Regions from separate parts of the Homo sapiens genome. Here all the other regions are linked to region 1. Evidence: promoter capture Hi-C in human tissues and cell types (Jung and others, 2019). All regions are on one chromosome and are shown on one strand. Each heading gives the region's core, a stretch centred on a gene start or on the middle of the fragment in contact. The rest is flanking DNA. Distances are from core to core; before and after follow the strand shown. Region 1 holds the start of GGA1 (golgi associated, gamma adaptin ear containing, ARF binding protein 1). Region 2 holds the start of MAFF (MAF bZIP transcription factor F). Region 3 overlaps CIMIP4 (ciliary microtubule inner protein 4).

Region 1 (2,880 bases), core at 23-2,522:
GTTAGCCAGGGGCCCACCCATCCCCCCAGCCCAGTTGCTGCTGAGACCCAGGCGGACACTTCCGGCGTTCACAACGGTCAAGGGCTGCTGAGTGCCCCTTTTCCACCCCCTGCCCCTCTGGTGGCTAGGATGACTCTGAAACATCCCTAGAGGTTTGGTTCTGGGGCCAACCTCATGGTTCAACTCTGCTCAAGCCTGGCTTAAAAGGGGCCGGCCATGACCCCAAACCACGCTAGACAGTTGCCGGTGTGCCCGGGTCCAAGAGGGTTCCCTGAGGCCCTGGCAACGACGGGGTCCCAACAGCAGTTAAAGCCTTGGGAGAGAACCCTCACTAGACCAGGGAGAAGCCAGCCACGGCTTTCAGAGGCAGAGTCCAGGAGCGGGGCTGTGAGAGCAGGGGATCATCAGGGCTGTGGGTTAAGGAGCTCAGGTGGAGGGTTTGCGGGCTAGGAAGCCTAAGCAATAGGAAGCTACGTCTGAGGAGAAACAAGAAAAAAAGGGGTGTAGAAGCCTTTGAAGGAAGTTCAGCAAGAGCTGGGAAAGGCATCTTGGAGACTGAGGGGTTAGGCTGAAGGGAGTGACAGGGAGCTTGGAATTATTAATACTTCTGGAGTCTAAGACTCTCCCAAGCCTGTAGGGTGCGGGGGTTTCTCACTATGTGGCTAGAGACTAGGAGCGGCGGGAGGAATCAAATGGGGCAGTGGGTCCTCCCTTCCAGGACGGGGTAATGAGCAAATGTGACTACTTGCGGGCTCCAGGAACGCCATGCAGGGCCAGAGAGTGGAGGATTCGGGGCCTGAAAATAGTAGGGTCCCTCCCTCCCGGGTGTGAGATGCAACCCCGGGGAACCGCTCGCGTGCTCCTTCCCCGGGCCGCTACTCCGTGAAGCAATGTGAGCCTTGGGGGTTGGAGGCTGCTCTCTCCGTCCCGGGGGTTCCCGGCGCAGCTCACTCGCCGTCCCAGGGGTCATGGCCCAGGGATCCGACAGGTGGGCGGCGCCCGCTCCCACCGCTGGACCGCGCCGGGGCCGGGGTCCTCCATCGCTCCAGGGTCTGAGGGGCCGACTGAGGACACCGCCCCTCCCGGGCCGGGGGCGGGGCGTGAGGAGGGGGCGACCCGTACCCCGCCCCCGCCGGGAAGGGGCCCGCCTCGTGCCCCCGGTTCCGGTTCCGGTCCGGCCCGCGCCCCTCCCGGACACTCACTGATTCGCGCCTCCAGAGTCTCCGGCTCCATCGCGGGCTCCATCCGCCACCGGCCCCCAGCCTCGGCACCGCCCCCCCGCCCCCCGCAGCTCTCGCGGGACCTCCTGGGCACCGCCCTCTGCCGATTAAAGGGGCAACGTCCGAACGGGCGCGCTCGGCACCATAGAGAGGCCAACGAGCTCGCCTAGAGCGTCACCTACTCGCCCAACCCCACCCCCACGCGGCGTCTACGTCGCAGCTGGGACCGGCCGCCTGCTTTTCCGTTCCCGGCGCTCAGGCGGGAGAGGAAGTGGAGATACTGCAGGCTAAGGGCAGCACCATGGAAACCCCAAGGGACGCTCTAACTCGTTCTGCGTCACGGAGATGTCTGTGACCGCCTCCGGAAGAATTCTCTGCGGGCATGTTGCTGAGGGGCTCTGAGGCCACTTCCGGAGCCCTGAGCGGGTACTTCCGCTTAGAGTCGAACGTGGGAGAGTCCCTTAAAAGGGCGATAAGCTACATCCTCATGTACCTTGGCCGCTGTGAAAATGACGAAAATAAATCAGTTTCTTGAGTGCTTACAGTATTCTGGGCATTGTCCTAAGCACTATTTGTAATTAATCCATTTAGTTCTGACTCCTTACAACAAACCCACCAGATAATTAGTCGGCCTGAGGCCGCACAAGTAGCAGAGCTTGAACCCTGTGCCGTCTCCTCCATTCATCCAGCCAACGTTTAATGAACTCTTTGTATTTGCTTTGCTCTGTGATGGGCACAGAAGGAGATAGACAAGGCCAGATATTTATTACAGTGTGATAGGGGAAGCCCACGGGGTAGTGGGAACAAAGGAGGGGGCTCCTCCCCCAAACTGGGGTGGGGTGGGTGGGGGTGTTGTCAGGGGAGGGGTCGTGTCAGGGGAGGGGTCGTGTCAGGGGAGGTTTCAAGAGAAAGTGATACTGTACTTCGCTCAAAGACAGTCGGATTTCTCCACGTAGAGCTGGTGCGAAAAGATATTCAGGGAGAAAAAGTAGGATGAAGGCCGAGGAGGGCGGATCACGAGGTCAGGAGATCGAAACCATCCTAACACGGTGAAACCCCGTCTCTACTAAAAAAAAAAAAAAAAAAAAATTATCTGGGCGCGCCTTTAGTGCCAGCTACTTAGAAGGCTGAGGCAGAAGAATCGCTTGAACCCGGGAGGTGAAGGTTGCAGTGAGCCGAGATTGCGTCACTGCACTCCAGCCTGGGCGGCATAGCGAGACTCAGTCTCAAAAAAAAAAAAAAAAAAAAAAGTAGGATGAGTCCAGGGAGTTGGAAGTATTTCAATACGGCTCCCAGATATCTGCAAATAGATATCTATTTGCAGGAGATATCTTGGAATTAGGCTGGGGCAAGATCACCCAGGTCCCATGTTTTGCTGCCCTTTTTTTTTTTTTTCCCTGTAAGCAACGTTGGAGGTGTCGTTACAGTTTTACGGATGGTAGCAAAGTCAGGCTTTTGTTTTAGAAGGGTCCAGCAGTGGGAGGAAGATAGCAGTGGGAGCCAGACTGGAATCGGGGAGGACAGTACGAACAGACTTCCTAAGCTCGGCGCCTTTTCTCCTGTATCTCCCTCCATCAAAGACCTCCCTCACCTTGTGGCGTCACGACCTGGCGGCGCCTGGTCCCCGACTCACCTGGGTCCATTGCACTCTGTCGCCCCC
Region 2 (2,930 bases), core at 24-2,523, 590 kb before region 1:
GACTAGCTAAAAGCCTGTGGTCCTCTCCCTGCGCCGCACCCTTGCAGTCAAGGTTTTCTGGCCCTTCCTGTTCTCATGGGACTGAGGGGATGGGCAACCCTGGGGACGAACGAGAGTCCCTTGGTTCTTCCCTCCCCAGGAAGCCCCAAAATCTGGGGACAAGAACCTGGGCTCCAACTCACTTTGTTACCAGATCCACCGGGGTGCCAAGCGGGGGTGGCTCACATCCCTCACTCCTAGCTCAGCTGGGTGGGGTCTTTGATACCTTGCCCCACCCTGTGGCTGCGGGCGCGGGCTCTGGGCGGGAGACAAACACTGGGGTCACGTGGCGGAGGCCCTGGGAAACTCCGGGGAGAGCCGGGGACGGACAGCCCCGGGTAGTAGGACTGGGGCGGCCCGGGCCAGAATTCCCAGACCCCGTGCGAAGACGCACGGGTCCGCTTCCTTCGCTCGGGTCCTTGTTCCGCGTTTACTCCGGTGGCCGGCCCAGGGCACGCCCTCTCCGAGGTACACACTGCTGGTGTACAGGCCCCAGGGAGCGCGCGCGCGGACACGCACACACAAGCACAACACACGCACACACGCCCCCGAGGTACACAGCGCACGCACGCACCGGGCAGGATACCCAGGCCGCCCGCCAGGGAACACACGCCCGCCCTCGGACGTAAACAAACCGCGCACGCACCGCCCGCGGGCGCCGGGCCAGGGCCTGTTCCCACCGAGTCACGTAGGAGCACAGCGCCCCCGCCCCCGCCGGGCGGACGCGGAGATCGCCGGCCTGCGCTGCCCCTTCCTCCCGGCGCCGCCGCCTACCCGCCCGCGCCCCGGGAAGGGGCCCCGTCTCCACCCCCACTCCCCCGAGCTGGCCTCGGCCCCGTCCTCGGCGTCCCCGGGACGGCCGCTCCCTTCTCCCCGCCCCGAGCCGTCCGGGCGATGGAGCTCCGGGAGCCCCGACGGATCGGGCCCGGGCGCCCACCCCAGGCGCATCCCGGGACGCAGAAACCCTGCCGCCTTGGGGTCCCGCGCACCGTCCTCCTGGTCCCGCGTTCCTCACCCGCTTCTGGGCCCGCTTGGTCCGGCGCGCTCACACACGCGCGTCTCGCCGCTGTCCCGGCCGCTGTCCCGATCCGCGCTCCGGTCAGTCTCCCCTCCGCTCTGAGCCGCAGGTCGCTCTGAACCGGGCGCCCGGGAGCGCTGCGCTGAGTTTTGTTGTGGGGCGGGCGGCGCAGGGGGCCGAGGCCGCGCGGAGTTGTAAGGCGAGCTTCCCGGAATTACTCACTCACAGGATTCCTTTCATTCATAAAAACCCAGTCATGCGGTGACGTCACCGACCCGGCCGCCCTCCGGCCAGGAGCGGCCGCTTGGTCCCTCGGCCCCGCCCCCGTATGACCCCGCCCCCTGGAAGCCCCGCCCCCGGGGCTGCCGCGATTCTCTGCCTGGTTCCAGGGCTCGCTGGGTGCGTTCACGTGACACCTCGCGAGAGCCCCGTGGGTGTAGGTGTCATTGGCTCATTTTACAGGTAGTGGTCCTGGCCCTCTTCTTTCGACCTAGACCTTCTGCCTTAATGATCTCATCCAGTCCCGTGGCTTTAAATGACATTTATATGGCTATGAGCCCCAGGTTTGTATTTCCGGAGCGAACAGCTTCTCTGAGTTCCAGACTCATAGCCAGCTGCCCACTCTGCGCATCCAGTGGGTGTCAGATGGGCACTGCAGAGGACTCGGCCCAAAAACCCGCTCCTGATCGTCAGCCCTACCTCTGCTCCCTTGCCACCCCATCTCAGCTGCTCAAGCCAAAACCTTGGAGCCTGGCTCCATCCCTCCCTCTCCCTTCCTCCCCACCTCAGGACTCAAGCTAGCGGTGTCTCCAGGTCTCCTGCATAGGACCATTTCTCACCACCTCCAGTCATGGCACCTGGTCTCGGCACCATCAGCTTACCCGGACAATGGCAGCAGCCTCCGAGGCTCCCTACTTTGCCTCCAAAGTCTTTCTTTCTATACCAGCCAATGTTCTTCTCAAAACAAAGCTCAGGTTGTTTACACACCTTCTTTGGCCACTCTCTCCTCATCCACTGCTCTTCGGCCACAGTGCCCTTCTTTCTGTCCCCCAAACATACCAAGCTCATTCCTGCGACAGGCCCTTGGCACTGGCTGTCTGGTCTTCTGTTCACTTGCCTGACTCTTTCTCATCTTTCACGTCAGCCCGGATGTCACTGCCTCAGAGAGACATTTCCTGACCACCCTGGTTAAAGCAGTCTTCACCTCTGAATTTTTTTTTTTTTTTCGAGACAGGGTCTCACTCTGTCACCCAGGCTGGAGTGCAGTGGCACAATCTCGGCTCACTGCAACCTCCTTCTCCTGGACTCCAGCCATTCTCCCACCTTAGCCTCCCAAGTAGCTGGGACCATAAGCACACACCACCATGCTAGGTTCATTTTTTGTATTTTTTTTTTTTTTTTTTTTTTTTTTTTTTTGTAGAGACAGGGTTTTGCCATGTTGCCCAAACTGGTCTCAAACTCCTGGACTCAGGCAATCCACCCACGCTGGCCTCCCAAAGTAATGGGATTACAGGCGCAAGCCACCGCACCCAGCCTTGAAATTTGTTCTTATATTATCTTAATACTTCTGTAGGGTGTTTCATCATTTATGTATGTGAGTGCTGGTTATTGTCTGTCTTCCCCAACCAGAATGTATGTTTTATGAAGGCAGGCCTTGCTTCTTTTTCTTTTTCTTTTTTTTTTTTTGAGACAGAGTCTCACTCTGTTGCCCAGGCTGGAGTGCAGTGGCATAATCTTGGCTCACTGCAACCTCCGCCTCCCAGGTTCAAGGAATTCAGCCCCCCAGTAGCTGGACTACAGGTGAGTCACCATGCCCAGCCAGGCTGGTTTTGAACCCCTGACCTCAGGCCACCCACCTCGGCCTCCCAAAGTG
Region 3 (2,751 bases), core at 190-2,689, 610 kb after region 1:
GGCAGAAGAGGAGGAGGAGATGAAAGGAAAAATTATGAAGGAGTAAAATGAGCCCAGGGTTCCAAGGCTGCTTGAGATAGGTCTTTGAGGACTGGTGGGGTGGGGTGGGGGTGGCCAGGGCTTTTCAGAGAGGGCAGAGGCTGCAGAAGTCCAGGAGGCAGCCCCTGTGCCAGGGGTGATGAGTGAATGGGGCAGAGGCTCCGTGGGTCTGGGCAGTGCCAGAGGGCACCAGGGGCAGCTTAGGAACCTCTGATCAGGGGCGGGCAGACAGCCACAGGCCTTCCTGTTCAGCTCCCAGCTCATCCTTGTTCACAGAAACTCTGTGTGTTATCTGAGACGATGAAACGTGGTGCTTTGTTTACAGGACTAAGCTTGGAATTGCCTGTCCCACAGCAAGAGGCTATGGAGCTGGGCCACGGAGCAGGTAGGACAGGCAGACCAGGGATGTGCTGAATGCACATCCAGGCTTCTGGAGGGACTCCCTGGGGCAGCAGGGCACCGGCCCTTTCTCCTCCCGCTCCGTCTTGTGTTGGCCTCCAGACCCACCATCGGCCCAGGCTTCCTAGGGGGGCATTCTGTTGGAAGACAGAAGGAAAAAGGAGGGAACGGAATTACTGAGCCCTCCCATCCTGCCATGTGCAGGGATTATCACCCCGATATGGTCTCCATCCTGAGGGGGTGACTCAGGTGCTCTGAGTCTTGTGTGTACCAGAAGGGCAGGGCTGTGGGGGAACATGGTGAGGGGCCTGGCCTCAATGGATGGGAGGTATATATGGGGTTACACGTGAGCCAAGAGCAGGGGTAGTGTAGCCCAAGGAGTGGAGGGGAGTGTTCCAGGCAGGAGAAATAGCTCAGGCAAAGGCTTGGGAGGGAGAGACGGCTGGCACTTTTGTGGAGTCCCGAGAGCAGGCACTCTGCCCTGAGGACAAGAGGAAAGATTTTGATGCAGGCGTGACTGAGTCAGGCCCGCTCTGAGAATGGTCCCCAGGGGTGAGTGCAGGTTGGCTGGGGCTGGCAGGTGGGATGGGGAGAAGAGAGTCCAGTGAGTTGGGGCAGCGATCCTGCTAAAATCTTCCTCCAATGACCTGAATGCCCAGGGGCTTGTTAAACACTCAGATTCAGGGCCTTTCTGATGCAGCAGCTCTGAGAGGGTCCCAGGCATCTGTATTTTTAATGAGAGCCTAGGGAATCCTCATACATGGCCACATTTAGATAAACTCTGCGGAGGTTTATCATCCAGGGGATATGATGGTTTAGCTTGGGCTCAGAGGCCTGACGGCCAAGATGCCCAGCCCTTATGTATCTTTTAAGAGGACTTGAAGTTTTGGAGGGAAGACCACCAAACATATTTACAGCTGTAATCTGGGGTGGAGGATGAGGCCAGGCTGTGAGGAGACACTGAAGGCTGAGAGCAAGAGACCTAGAGAAGCGGAGGCTGTGGGCAGGGACGTGGGAGACAGGGAGAGGCGGGGAGGAGAGAGCCTGGGAGGTGGCTGGGATGGTGCCACTTCTCAGCCCTGGCGAAGGGAGGAGGTAGGTATTGGGGAGCAGTCTTGCATTGGAAGCAAAGTCTGGAAGTCCCATCCAACTCCAGTACTTCCCAGGCATGTGGCTTAGCCCCAGGAACGCCTCTGCCAGTGCCGCTGCTGCCAGATTCTCACTGCGGAGAGTGAGGGGGAGGTTTCAAGATGGAAAAGTGGGGAAGGGAACTATCCAAATGGAGCCAGGGACATGAAAGCACAGACAGGCCAAGTCCCTTGCTTGCGGTCACACAGCTAGGCCTCAAGGCGGGACAGGCTTAGGCGGCAGCCCTTGTTGCCCCAGGCAATGTGGACTAACCCTGCCCGTGGGAGGCACGCAGGCTGGCCTCTCTTCTCCCATTGTGTCTCCTAATTTCCCACCCATGCCTCTGGTTCCTGCGCTTCCTCTCCGTCCCTCTCCCCTTCTCTGGCTGTGGAGCTCTGGGGCTCTTTGTCTGTCCGTTTCCCCTCCTCACCCCCATCTCTGCCCCCTCCCCACCCTCTACTTTCTGCCCTTGTCTGCGTGTCTCTCTCCCTCCCCCTCTGTTTCTCTTTGTCCTGCTCAGGTACAACCACTTTCACCAGGGCCCATCTGAATGACAAGGAGGGCCAACAGGACTTGGACCCCTGGAAAGCGGCCTACAGTTCCTTGGACACCTCCAAGTTCAAGAACCAGGGTCTGTCATCCCCACAGCCCCTGCCCCTGGGAGCCAGCGCTCAAGGCAGCTCCCTAGGGCAGTGCCACTTGAAGGAGATTCCCCCTCCACCCCCGACTGCTGCCAGCAGGGATTCTCTGGGCATGGACCCACAGTCCAGGTCCCTGAAGAATGCGGGCTCTCGATCCTCCTCGAGAGAGAACAGGGCCACCTCGGGAGAGGGGGCTCAGCCATGCCAGGGGACGGATGACGGTCCCAGCTTGGGGGCTCAGGACCAGAGGAGCACGCCCACGAACCAGAAGGGCAGCATCATTCCTAACAACATTCGCCACAAGTTTGGGAGCAATGTGGTGGACCAGCTGGTCTCCGAGGAGCAGGTGTCATAGCAGGGGCCAGGAGGGTGATGCAGAGTCTTATAATGAGGACATAAGATAAACTCACTCTTGAGTACAGAGTCCCTATAATAATACCACTAGAAAGCAGTATCTCCTGAGCATCTGCTGTGTGCCAAACACTGTGCACTGTTTAAACTTCACATATAACAAGTTGTTACATCTTCCCAGCAACCCATGAGG

Evidence for each region. The method cuts DNA at HindIII sites, captures the fragments that hold promoters and counts their contacts. A contact is called where the count stands out against the background at its distance.
Region 2: a contact is called between the fragment with the promoter of MAFF here and the fragment with the promoter of GGA1 in region 1, in 1 of the 25 tissues and cell types used here (neural progenitor cells).
Region 3: a fragment that was not itself captured here is called in contact with the fragment with the promoter of GGA1 in region 1 in 1 of the 25 tissues and cell types used here (pancreas).

Annotation. Positions count from the first base shown.
Region 1 is chr22:37,607,226-37,610,105 of GRCh38, reverse strand. GGA1 (golgi associated, gamma adaptin ear containing, ARF binding protein 1) reads right to left here and starts at 1,272. Exons shown (of 17, transcript NM_013365.5): 1 at 1,203-1,272. The coding sequence starts at 1,245. RefSeq lists enhancers at 443-552, 267-888, 1,493-1,662, 1,813-1,892, a silencer at 883-1,332 and a cis regulatory region at 2,637-2,880. The HindIII fragment of the contact is 29,756 bases long and covers 1-2,880 here.
Region 2 is chr22:38,200,337-38,203,266 of GRCh38, reverse strand. MAFF (MAF bZIP transcription factor F) reads right to left here and starts at 1,273. Exons shown (of 3, transcript NM_012323.4): 1 at 1,055-1,273. RefSeq lists silencers at 617-1,056, 1,117-1,446. The HindIII fragment of the contact is 8,533 bases long and covers 1-2,930 here.
Region 3 is chr22:37,001,639-37,004,389 of GRCh38, reverse strand. It overlaps CIMIP4 (ciliary microtubule inner protein 4), which reads left to right. Exons shown (of 6, transcript NM_001163857.2): 2 at 365-424; 3 at 2,087-2,553. The coding sequence starts at 403. Among named protein-coding and RNA genes, the nearest start is that of CIMIP4, 4.8 kb to the left of the region's middle. The HindIII fragment of the contact is 5,555 bases long and covers 1-2,751 here.